3 separate regions of the Homo sapiens genome follow, and regions 1 and 3 are each linked to region 2. Evidence: promoter capture Hi-C in human tissues and cell types (Jung and others, 2019). All regions are on one chromosome and are shown on one strand. The core of a region is centred on a gene start or on the middle of the fragment in contact, and the rest is flanking DNA. Distances in the headings are between cores, read along the strand shown. Region 1 holds the start of NAPA (NSF attachment protein alpha). Region 2 holds the start of EMP3 (epithelial membrane protein 3 (MAM blood group)). Region 3 holds the start of C5AR2 (complement C5a receptor 2).

What was found. The method cuts DNA at HindIII sites, captures the fragments that hold promoters and counts their contacts. A contact is called where the count stands out against the background at its distance.
Region 1: the fragment with the promoter of NAPA here is called in contact with the fragment with the promoter of EMP3 in region 2 in 1 of the 25 tissues and cell types used here (dorsolateral prefrontal cortex).
Region 3: a contact is called between the fragment with the promoter of C5AR2 here and the fragment with the promoter of EMP3 in region 2, in 1 of the 25 tissues and cell types used here (dorsolateral prefrontal cortex).

What each region holds. Positions count from the first base shown.
Region 1 is chr19:47,513,580-47,516,681 of GRCh38, forward strand. NAPA (NSF attachment protein alpha) reads right to left here and starts at 1,484. Exons shown (of 11, transcript NM_003827.4): 1 at 1,264-1,484. The coding sequence starts at 1,361. RefSeq lists a silencer at 1,433-1,772 and an enhancer at 1,863-2,132. The HindIII fragment of the contact is 27,973 bases long and covers 1-3,102 here.
Region 2 is chr19:48,323,992-48,326,801 of GRCh38, forward strand. EMP3 (epithelial membrane protein 3 (MAM blood group)) reads left to right here and starts at 1,561. Exons shown (of 5, transcript NM_001425.3): 1 at 1,561-1,619. RefSeq lists a silencer at 576-807 and enhancers at 1,385-1,434, 2,035-2,084, 2,375-2,444. The HindIII fragment of the contact is 22,631 bases long and covers 1-2,810 here.
Region 3 is chr19:47,330,495-47,333,438 of GRCh38, forward strand. It overlaps C5AR2 (complement C5a receptor 2), which reads left to right and starts at 1,681. Exons shown (of 2, transcript NM_001271749.2): 1 at 1,681-1,855. The HindIII fragment of the contact is 20,876 bases long and covers 1-2,944 here.

The DNA.
Region 1 (3,102 bases), core at 234-2,733, 810 kb before region 2:
GAGCTAACGTGAGTTTTATGCCACGTCATATGTGTTAGTTCTGTCTCCCAGGCCTTTTCCCATCCCTCTTCTCAGCATGTCTCTGTCATCCCTATTACTCGAGGATCACACAGCAGGAATTTGATCCCCCGTTTTGGTTCTCTCAGTCCCCCTGTCTCTCCCTGTTATCCCTCCATCTCCTTGGCCAAGCCACCACCACGCATTCCCCCACCCAGGAGTCTCCAGCCTCAACCCAGGCCTCCTCAGGCTTTTTTCTTTCTTTCTTTCTTTTTTTTTTTTTTTTTTTTTGAGACAGAGTCTCGCTCTGTCCCCCAGGCTGTAGTGCAGTGGCTCGATCTCGGCTCACTGCAACCTCTACCTCCGGGTTCAAGTGATTCTCCTGCCCCAGCCTCCCGAGTAGCTGGGATTACAGGTACCCGCCACCAGGCCCAGATAACTTTTGTATTTTTAGTAGAGACGGGGTTTCACCATGTTGTCCAGGCTGGTCTCGAACTCCCCGCCTCAGATAATCTGCCCACCTCGGCCTCCCAAAGTGCTGAGACCTCCACAGTCTTGACTCCATCATCCCGGGTTCCTCCGTTCAGCTGTCCTTAAACTAGTCACTGCTAACCAGGGCCGTACTCACCCCATGCACCCCCCACACTTCAGACGCGGCTCACCGCTCCTAGGATCATCTAGCCCTGAGCCCCTCTGCCTGGTGTCAGCCCCCTTCAGCCTTCACCCTCACCGCCCAGGGCCCACGCAAATCCACTGCTCCAGGGGTTGAAAAGGTCAGTCCCTCGGGCAGGCGTCCTCAGCCCCAGGCCCCATCACTGCCGCCTGAGAGCCTTCAAACAGACTCCCCTAGAGCTCCGAAAAGCCTCTGGACCTGGCTTCTCTCCCGGACTCCCTCCGTCCCCCCAGGCCGGTCCCCTCCAAGGCTTCAGGACGTACTCCCTCGGTCCAGGTTCTCCCCCGCCCGCTGGCCTGTCTTCGGCCTGGGTCCCCTTCCTCGCCTCAAGATAGTGTCGCCTCGGTCCGTGTGTCCTCAGCCCAAATCCCTTCCGCCATGTCAGACCGTCTCTCCTCAAACCGTGTTGCCCCGGCCCAGGCTCTTGGCCCTCAGCCTGCGTCCCCTCTGCCGCCTCAGGCCATGTCACCTTATTGCAGGTTCCTCTCCGTCCCCTCGGCCCGAGCTCTGCGTGCCCTAACCCGCCACCTCCGAGCGTGACTCCTTCGTCCTCTCAGCCTAGGTCCCGGCCGACCCCTCAGCCCGGTTCTCACCCAAAGAGGCCAGAGAAGAAGGACTGCGAGTTCTTCACTTTGCGCTCCGCCTCGGCCAACAGCGCCATCGCCTCCGCTTCCTTCCCGGAATTGTCCATGGCGGCCACAAAGGGACTCAGCAAAGCGCCTGACCCTGACCCTGGGAAGACTCAGCCGCGGCCGGGCCGCGGAACACAGATCGGTAAAACTCGCCCGGCTGCGTTGACGTCGCACCGGCGCGCGTCGCTTGCGGCCAGGAACCACGTGACTAGCGCTGGCCAACCAGCGGCCTCGTAACGCCGCGCCCGCTCCGCCGGACACGCCCCCACCAGCCGCCGCACGCCGCCCGTGACTCGTGACCCCCCAATCGGCGTCAAGAGACCTCAACGCATGCGCACATACCGGCGAACGGCGCTCCACTCTCTCCCCAGCGCTCTGTACCTCACCTCCCACGTGACCCTGTGGAAGGCAATGGCAGTACCCCCCGCCGAGGCCCCGCCCCACGGTGTTGCTGCTGGATCCTCCTCCACCAATCAGCAGGAGCCCTCGGCTCGCGCTGGGGCGGGGGGTCCCCCACTCGCCCTCCCCGCGGAACTCTGGCACAGTCAGCTGACCGCAGACACTCACGTGACAGCTCGGGGCCCACGCCCGGGTTTGACAGTTCTGCGCAGAACTTAGTCCCGCCCCCGCGGCTGGTCTCGCCGGTTTCTTCACTTGGAAAGGCGTTTGTGGGAAAAGGAAACCGTTCTGCTTTTTCTTGCTCCCTCTGTCGGCCAGTACTAGAACTGCTTTGGGGAGACCGGTGAAGAGAGACTGCAAACAAAAACTTAAGAGGTTCTCTAACTCTGGTTTCATAAAAAATAGCTGAAGAGGGCCGGGCACGGTGGCTTACGCCTGTAATCCCAGCACTTTGGGAGGCCGAGGCGGGCGGATCACTTGAGGTCATGAGTTTGAGACCAGCCCGGCCAACATGGCGAAACCCCGCTCTACTAAAATACAAATATTAACCGGGTGTGGTGGCACACTCCTGTAATCCCAGCTACTGAGGAGGCTGAGAGAGGAGAATCGCTTGAACCGGGGAGGTGGAGGTTGCAACGGGCCGAGATCGTGCCACTGCACTCCAGCCTGGGCGACAGAGTGAGACTTAGTCTCAGAAAAAAAAAAAAAATAGCTGAAGAGAGCGTGTTAAAAAAAAATTCAGATTCGAAGATGGGCGCGGTGTCTCGTGCCTATAATCCCAGCTACTCGGGAGGCGAGAGGATCGCTTGGGCCCAGGAGTTTGAGTCTAGTTCAAGTCCCGCCTTGGGCAACATAGCAAGACTCTGTCTCTAAAAAAAAAAGTTTAGGCTCAAACACACCTCCTGCTGTCCCAGAAAATTGAGTTGCTGGTTTCTGAGACAGGGTCTCACTCTTTGGGTTGTTGGTTTTGGAGACAGGGTCTCGGTCTGTCGCCCAGGCTGGAGTGCAGCAGCACAATCATAGCTCACCTCAGTATAACTTTGTAGTGCCAGAAAGGAAGGAAGTATTCCACACGTGTGCTCACACACAAAATTAGGGGGTATGCCAAAGGAGCCAACTGAAAGAACTCCCAATGGCCAAAGCTGGAACAATTTGAGCATCAAAATAAAGTAGTATTGGATTATAATCCCAAACATAAAGTATCCATGAGCCTATGGTCATATAGATGAATATAGAACAAATAAATAAAGGGGGGAGAATAGACAAATAGTTTGTGCAGAAGAATTCCAAATAATCTGCGTAGATACTCTGCTCTCAAGAAGGTGAAGGATACCTCCCCATTCTGTAAGTATGGACTGTGCATAGTGACTTCCTTTCAAAGAAGAGGGTACAAGAAAGGGG
Region 2 (2,810 bases), core at 311-2,810:
CGCCTCCCGGGTTCAAGCAATTCTCCTGTCTCAGCCTCCTGAGTAGCTGGGTTACAGGCGCCCACTACCATGCCTGGCTAATTTTTGTATTTTTAGTAGAGACAGGGTTTCACCATGTTGGCCAGGCTGGTCTTGAACTCTCGACCTCAGGTGATCCTCCAGCCTTGGCCTCCCAAAGTGCTGAGATTACAGGCATGAGCCACCACGTCCAGCCTATTGTATTTATTTTTCAAGTCACTTATCCTTATCTGAGATTTATCTTCATCATTGATGTTTTCTCTTGTCTGTCTTCCTCTACTAGAATACAAGCTCCATAATACCAGCAGGGCTCATGTCTGTTTTCATTATTAACTCCCAGATCAGAGTACATGTTCAATAAATGTTTGATGAAGGAAGGAACAGGTTAGGTGTGTGAGTGTGCCAGTATTACCTTATTCATTCAGCATAAGTATCAGAATTATTATTATCAGTATTAGTATTTTGTCAGCATTATTATACTCTCAACATAGACTAAGATACTGGAGCCCAGGTGGGTGAAATAATTGGCTCAAGGTCACTGAACCAGGAAATGATGGCGCTGGGATTCTTAGCTTCCGCTTCCTCCCCGCTTCCAGAGTTTCACAAGGTTTTTTTTTTTGTTTGTTTGTTTTTTGTTTTGTTTTGTTTTTTTTTTGCGACAGAATCTCACTTTGTCCCCCAGGTTGGAAGGCAGTGGTGCAAACTCAACTCACTGCAGCCTCCACCTCTCGCGTTCAAGCGATTCTCATGGCTCAGCCTCCCAAGTAGCTGGGATTACAGTCGCCCGCCACCACGCCCGGCTAATTTTTGTATTTTTGATAGAGACGGGTTTCCACCATGTTGGCCAGGCTGGTCTCGAACTCCTGACCTCAGATGATCTGCCCGTCTCGGCCTCCCAAAGTGCTGGGATTACAGGCGTGAGCCACAACGCCCTGCCGAGTTTCACAAATTTCATCTCCCATCCTCTGACCCCCCACCACGGGGCCAACTTCACCAGCCCAATCTCAAGTCCATGCCACAGAAATCTGGCCTCTTTTCCCAGACTCCTATCCAGCTCCAAGCTCCATCAGGGAAAGCAGACATCCGGCCCCAGGGCAAGACCTCAAAACTCAAGGGTCCTGAGAATCGGGCCCTCCCACCCCTGACGCTTGCCCCCCCCAAGAACCCCATTCCAAGAGTTTCTCATCTCAACCCTGGGAGGGAGCCCCAGATGATGTCTGTCTGGAGGGATTGGGTGGGGGCCCAAAGAAAGAGGAACCGGAGTGCCTGGGCCCTCCCACTGGCAGCCGACCTCAGCTGGGTGCGGTGAGGGTGGGTTTATAAAAGGGTCAGTATATATTGAGAGGAGGAGAGAAAGAGAAACGGGAGCAAGAGAGAAGGAGGCCCAGACAGTGAGGGCAGGAGGGAGAGAAGAGACGCAGAAGGAGAGCGAGCGAGAGAGAAAGGGTTCTGGATTGGAGGGGAGAGCAAGGGAGGGAGGAAGGCGGTGAGAGAGGCGGGGGCCTCGGGAGGGTGAAAGGAGGGAGGAGAAGGGCGGGGCACGGAGGCCCGAGCGAGGGACAAGACTCCGACTCCAGCTCTGACTTTTTTCGCGGCTCTCGGTAAGTTTCCAGTCCGTTATTCAGGGCTGGGACTTCTTAATTTACTTGGGAATGTAGCAGTTTGGGAAGGACACCCCCAGGCTGGGAGAGACGTCCCTGACTCTTGGAAATCCTTTTAATTTAATAAGTGATCTCTTAGCACTTGAGGTGGGGATATGGGAAGGGGTGGGGCCCGGCAAAGTTTTGGGGTCCCAGCAGAGCCCTCCACTGGAAAACTTCCTGCAGTTTTTCCCTCAGCGGTGTCCACTGTCCTCTGGGGTCCCTGAGATCAGGGCATTGCATGAGAACACCCCAAATCTGGGAGACCTCTAGGTCCCCTGTTCCTGGGCACCAAAGAGTCCTGGGAGGCTAACTCCTTCTTGGGCCTCTCTTCCCCCCAGCGCGAATCCTATCCATTTCCTCCAGAAGATGTCCAACAGTCACCAGTCTGGCAGCAGGGTGGGGTGAGGACCTCGTGGACATAGCCAGGGGCTGGGGTTTCCCTGGTGCTTAGAGATGGGGGGGGGTGGGGATGAGTCACCAGATGACTCACCAGGTCCCCCTCCTCCCCTCAACCCAGGAGAGGAGTGGTGTGAGTCAAGAATGCCTGTTGCTGGGGGCAGCTCCTCAATCCTGATGTCGGGGTGCAGGGTGGGGTCTCAACTTGAATTTTCACTATCTGGCCTGTATGTAACCCAGAGTCAGGGTTCTGGGGAGAGAGGAGCCACATTGCTAGTCCTCCTCATTCAAGGAACCCAAGAGTCCATCTTTGGCCCTCTCCACCCCTCCAGCCAATGGGGATCTCAGGAATCCAGGCCCCAGCGGTCTCCTCCCTGAGAGACCCAGGAGTCTGCACCCATGCCCTTCCTCCATCAGGAGACATCTCACCTGCCTTTATGCCAAATTTTTTTTTTTTTTTGAGACGGAGTCTTTCTCTGTCACCCAGGCTGGAGTGCAATGGCATGATCTTGGCTCATTGCAACCTTTGCCTCCTGGATTCCAGTGATTCTCCTGCCTCAGCCTCCCGAGTAGCTGGGATTACAGGTGTGCACCACCACACCCAGCTAATTTTGTATTTTTAGTAGAGATGGGGTTTCACCATGTTGGCCAGGCTGGTCTCGATCTCCTGACCTCAGGTGATCCTCCCGCCTCGGCCTCCCAAAGTGCTGGGGTTATAGGCGTGAGTGTGCCTGGCCTGTGCCAACCTCTTGA
Region 3 (2,944 bases), core at 431-2,930, 990 kb before region 2:
TTTTCCTCTCTGAGGGTCCGGGGTGAGGGTCAGCCAACGCAGGGTCACCTAGTCAGGGAAACAGAGTGGAGGAAGCCCTGGGTCAAACAGTGAGTCCCAGCTCCTTGTCTCACGAACAACTTCCTCTAGCAAAGTGATTTCATTCTCTAAAACAATAACAAAAGAAGTGTGTAAATATATCCCTTGAATCCCTAAAGCACGCACAAAAAAAGCACAAACAGAAAGAACTGCTGAATAAAGAGGTTCCAAAGTTGGGGTTGGAGCCACTTCCTCTTGCTAAGCCTGCGTGGTATGTGTACTTTAAGAATTCACGTTACAGTCTTGTTGCTGTTGCGTGAGCCTAGCGTATACTATGTGCCAGGCACTGCTCCGGTTTTTTTGTTTTTGTTTTTTTGAGACAGAGTCTCACTCTGTCGCCCAGGCTGGAGTGCAATGGTGAGATCTCGGCTCACTGGAACCTCCGCCTCCTCGGTTCAAATGATTCTCCTGCCTCGGCCTCCCGAGTAGCTGGGATTACAGGCACGCACCACCACGCCCAGCTAATTTTTGTATTTTTAGTAGAGATGGTGTTCTGCCATGTTGGCCAGGCTGGTCTTGAACACTTGACTTCAAGTGATCCACCTGCCTCGGCCTCCCAAAGTGCTGGGATTACAGATGTGAGCTACCGCGCCCAGCCAGTTCTGTGCGTTTTAAATGTATCCAACGCTCATAGCAAACATCCACTGCACAGATGAGGAAGTTGAGGTTCAGAGGGGCTGAGGCCCTGAACTTTGATGAGGGTGTGTCGACCTGGAATATGAATCTCATCATTCTGGCCCTTGAGTTCTTGTTCTCAGCCACTGTGATATGCTGGAAGAGGTTAAGAATTGCTATCACGGCTGTGGCTCACTTCTGTAATCCCAGCCCTTTGGGAGGTCGAGGTGTGAGGATGGCTTGAGGCTGGGCAACACAGCAAGGCCGCACCTCTACAGAAAATTTTAAAAAATTAGCCAGGTATGTTGGTGCATGCCTGTAGTCCTAGCTACTCAGGAGGCTGAGGTGGGAGGATCACTTGAGCCTAGGAGTTTGAGGCTGCAGTGAGGCATAATGTTTTCACTGCACGCCAGTCTGAGCGACAGAGCAAGACTCCATCTCTAAAAAAAGTAAAGCATCGCTATGGCCAACAACATCTTCCCATTCTACAGATGGAAAATTGAGGCCCAAGAAAGGAGTTGTTTGTGCTTTTTCTACCACTGAGGCGTTGGGCCCTGCGCTCAGCTGCTGTGGTCTTTTTGTGGAGAATGTGACCCCAGGCTGTCTTCCTCAGAGCCGAGGAGGAGGGAGGGATGTTTGTCTGTCCTGAGGCTGCAGAAGGGAGGGGTTGAACACAGTTAGAGGCCTGGAGGTGGCTGGGGGCAGCTGGCATGTTGTGGGCAAACAGAATCCAGGCCAAGACCTCTAAGGCGTTAAAGAGCAAACCGCATGCAGGTCTGGCTTCCAGGAAGGTGGGACTTCGAGACTAGGGTTGGGGACTTGGGATCAGCCCTCCACCCAACCGAGCCCTCTCCTGCCCTGCCAGCCACCCCGTAATTTTGGGTTCTGTGAGTCACGGGAAGAAGACAGGACAAACACACCCTGAGAGCGAGACAAGGCCACTCCTATTTTGTACTGCTTATAAAGATTCACTGGGACTGGTGAGGTGGCAGTGCTCAGCAGCATCCGACAGGAGCCCTGGCAAACAGGACGGATTTCCAGGACTCTACCAGCTGCCAGACACGGCAGGGAGAGACCCCAGACCTCCTGGGTCCTGGCTGTGGGCCCGGATTGGGCTCCCAAGTGGCGTTTGACTCACGTGGGGACACTCTTGGAAGAGACGGTAAGGATGGAGGCTACAAGGGCGGGAAGGAGGGAGAGAGAGATTGCATGATCTTGGCTTCTCGGAATCATTACTTTCAGAATCTGGGAAGCAGAACTAGAGTTTGAGAAGTGCAGTCTTATTACAGCCACACTGGAACGCACGTCACAGTCCTGGGCTCTTGAATTAACTTGGGCAGCCCAGCAGCAAAGCTCTTGTCAAAGGATCTAAGCATTTTTTTTCTTTCTCTTTTTGGAGACAGGTTTTCATTCTTGTTGCCCAGGCTGGAGTGCAATGGTGCCATCTTGGCTCACCGCAACCTCCACCTCCCAGGTTCAAGGGATTCTCTTGTCTCAGCTGGGATTACAAGCGCATGCCACCATGCCTGGCTAATTTTGTATTTTTAGTAGAGATGGGGTTTCTCCATGTTGGTCAGGCTGGTCTCGAACTCCCGACCTCAGGTGATCTGTCCGCCTTGGCCTCCCAAAGTGCTGGGATTACAGGCGTGAGCCACTGTGCCCTGCCCAAATGGTTTTTCACACACAGATGTATGGGAAACAGCCTCTCTCAAACCTGCAGGAATTCCTGCAGCTTTCGGCAGATCCACCAAACTGTAGCATGTGTAGCAAGCAAGCCCTTTAACTCAGCGATTCCAATTCTTTTCTCTTTCTTTCCTTTTCTCTCTTTCTTTCTTTTGACAGGGTCTCACTCTGTCTCCCAGGCTGGAGTGCAGTGGTGCGATCTTGGCTCACTGCAACCTCCGCCTCCCAGGTTCAAGTGATTCTCCTGCCCCAGCCTGCTGAGTAGCTGGGATTACAGGTGCACGCCACCACACCTAGCTAATTTTTGTATTTTTAGTAGAGATGGGGTTTCACCATGTTGGCCAGGCTGGTCTCCAACTTTTGACCTCAGGTGATCCACCTACCTTGGCCTCCCAAAGTGCTGGGATTACAGGCGTGAATCACCGTGCCTGGCCCCCTCAATGTTCTATCACAAAATCTGTCCACATTCTTGTGTGGTGTTTGTTCATTCTCATCGTGTAGAATATTCCACAGGGTGAACACCCCATGATGTGTTTATCCATTCTGCTGTGGGTGGCTATTTGGACGG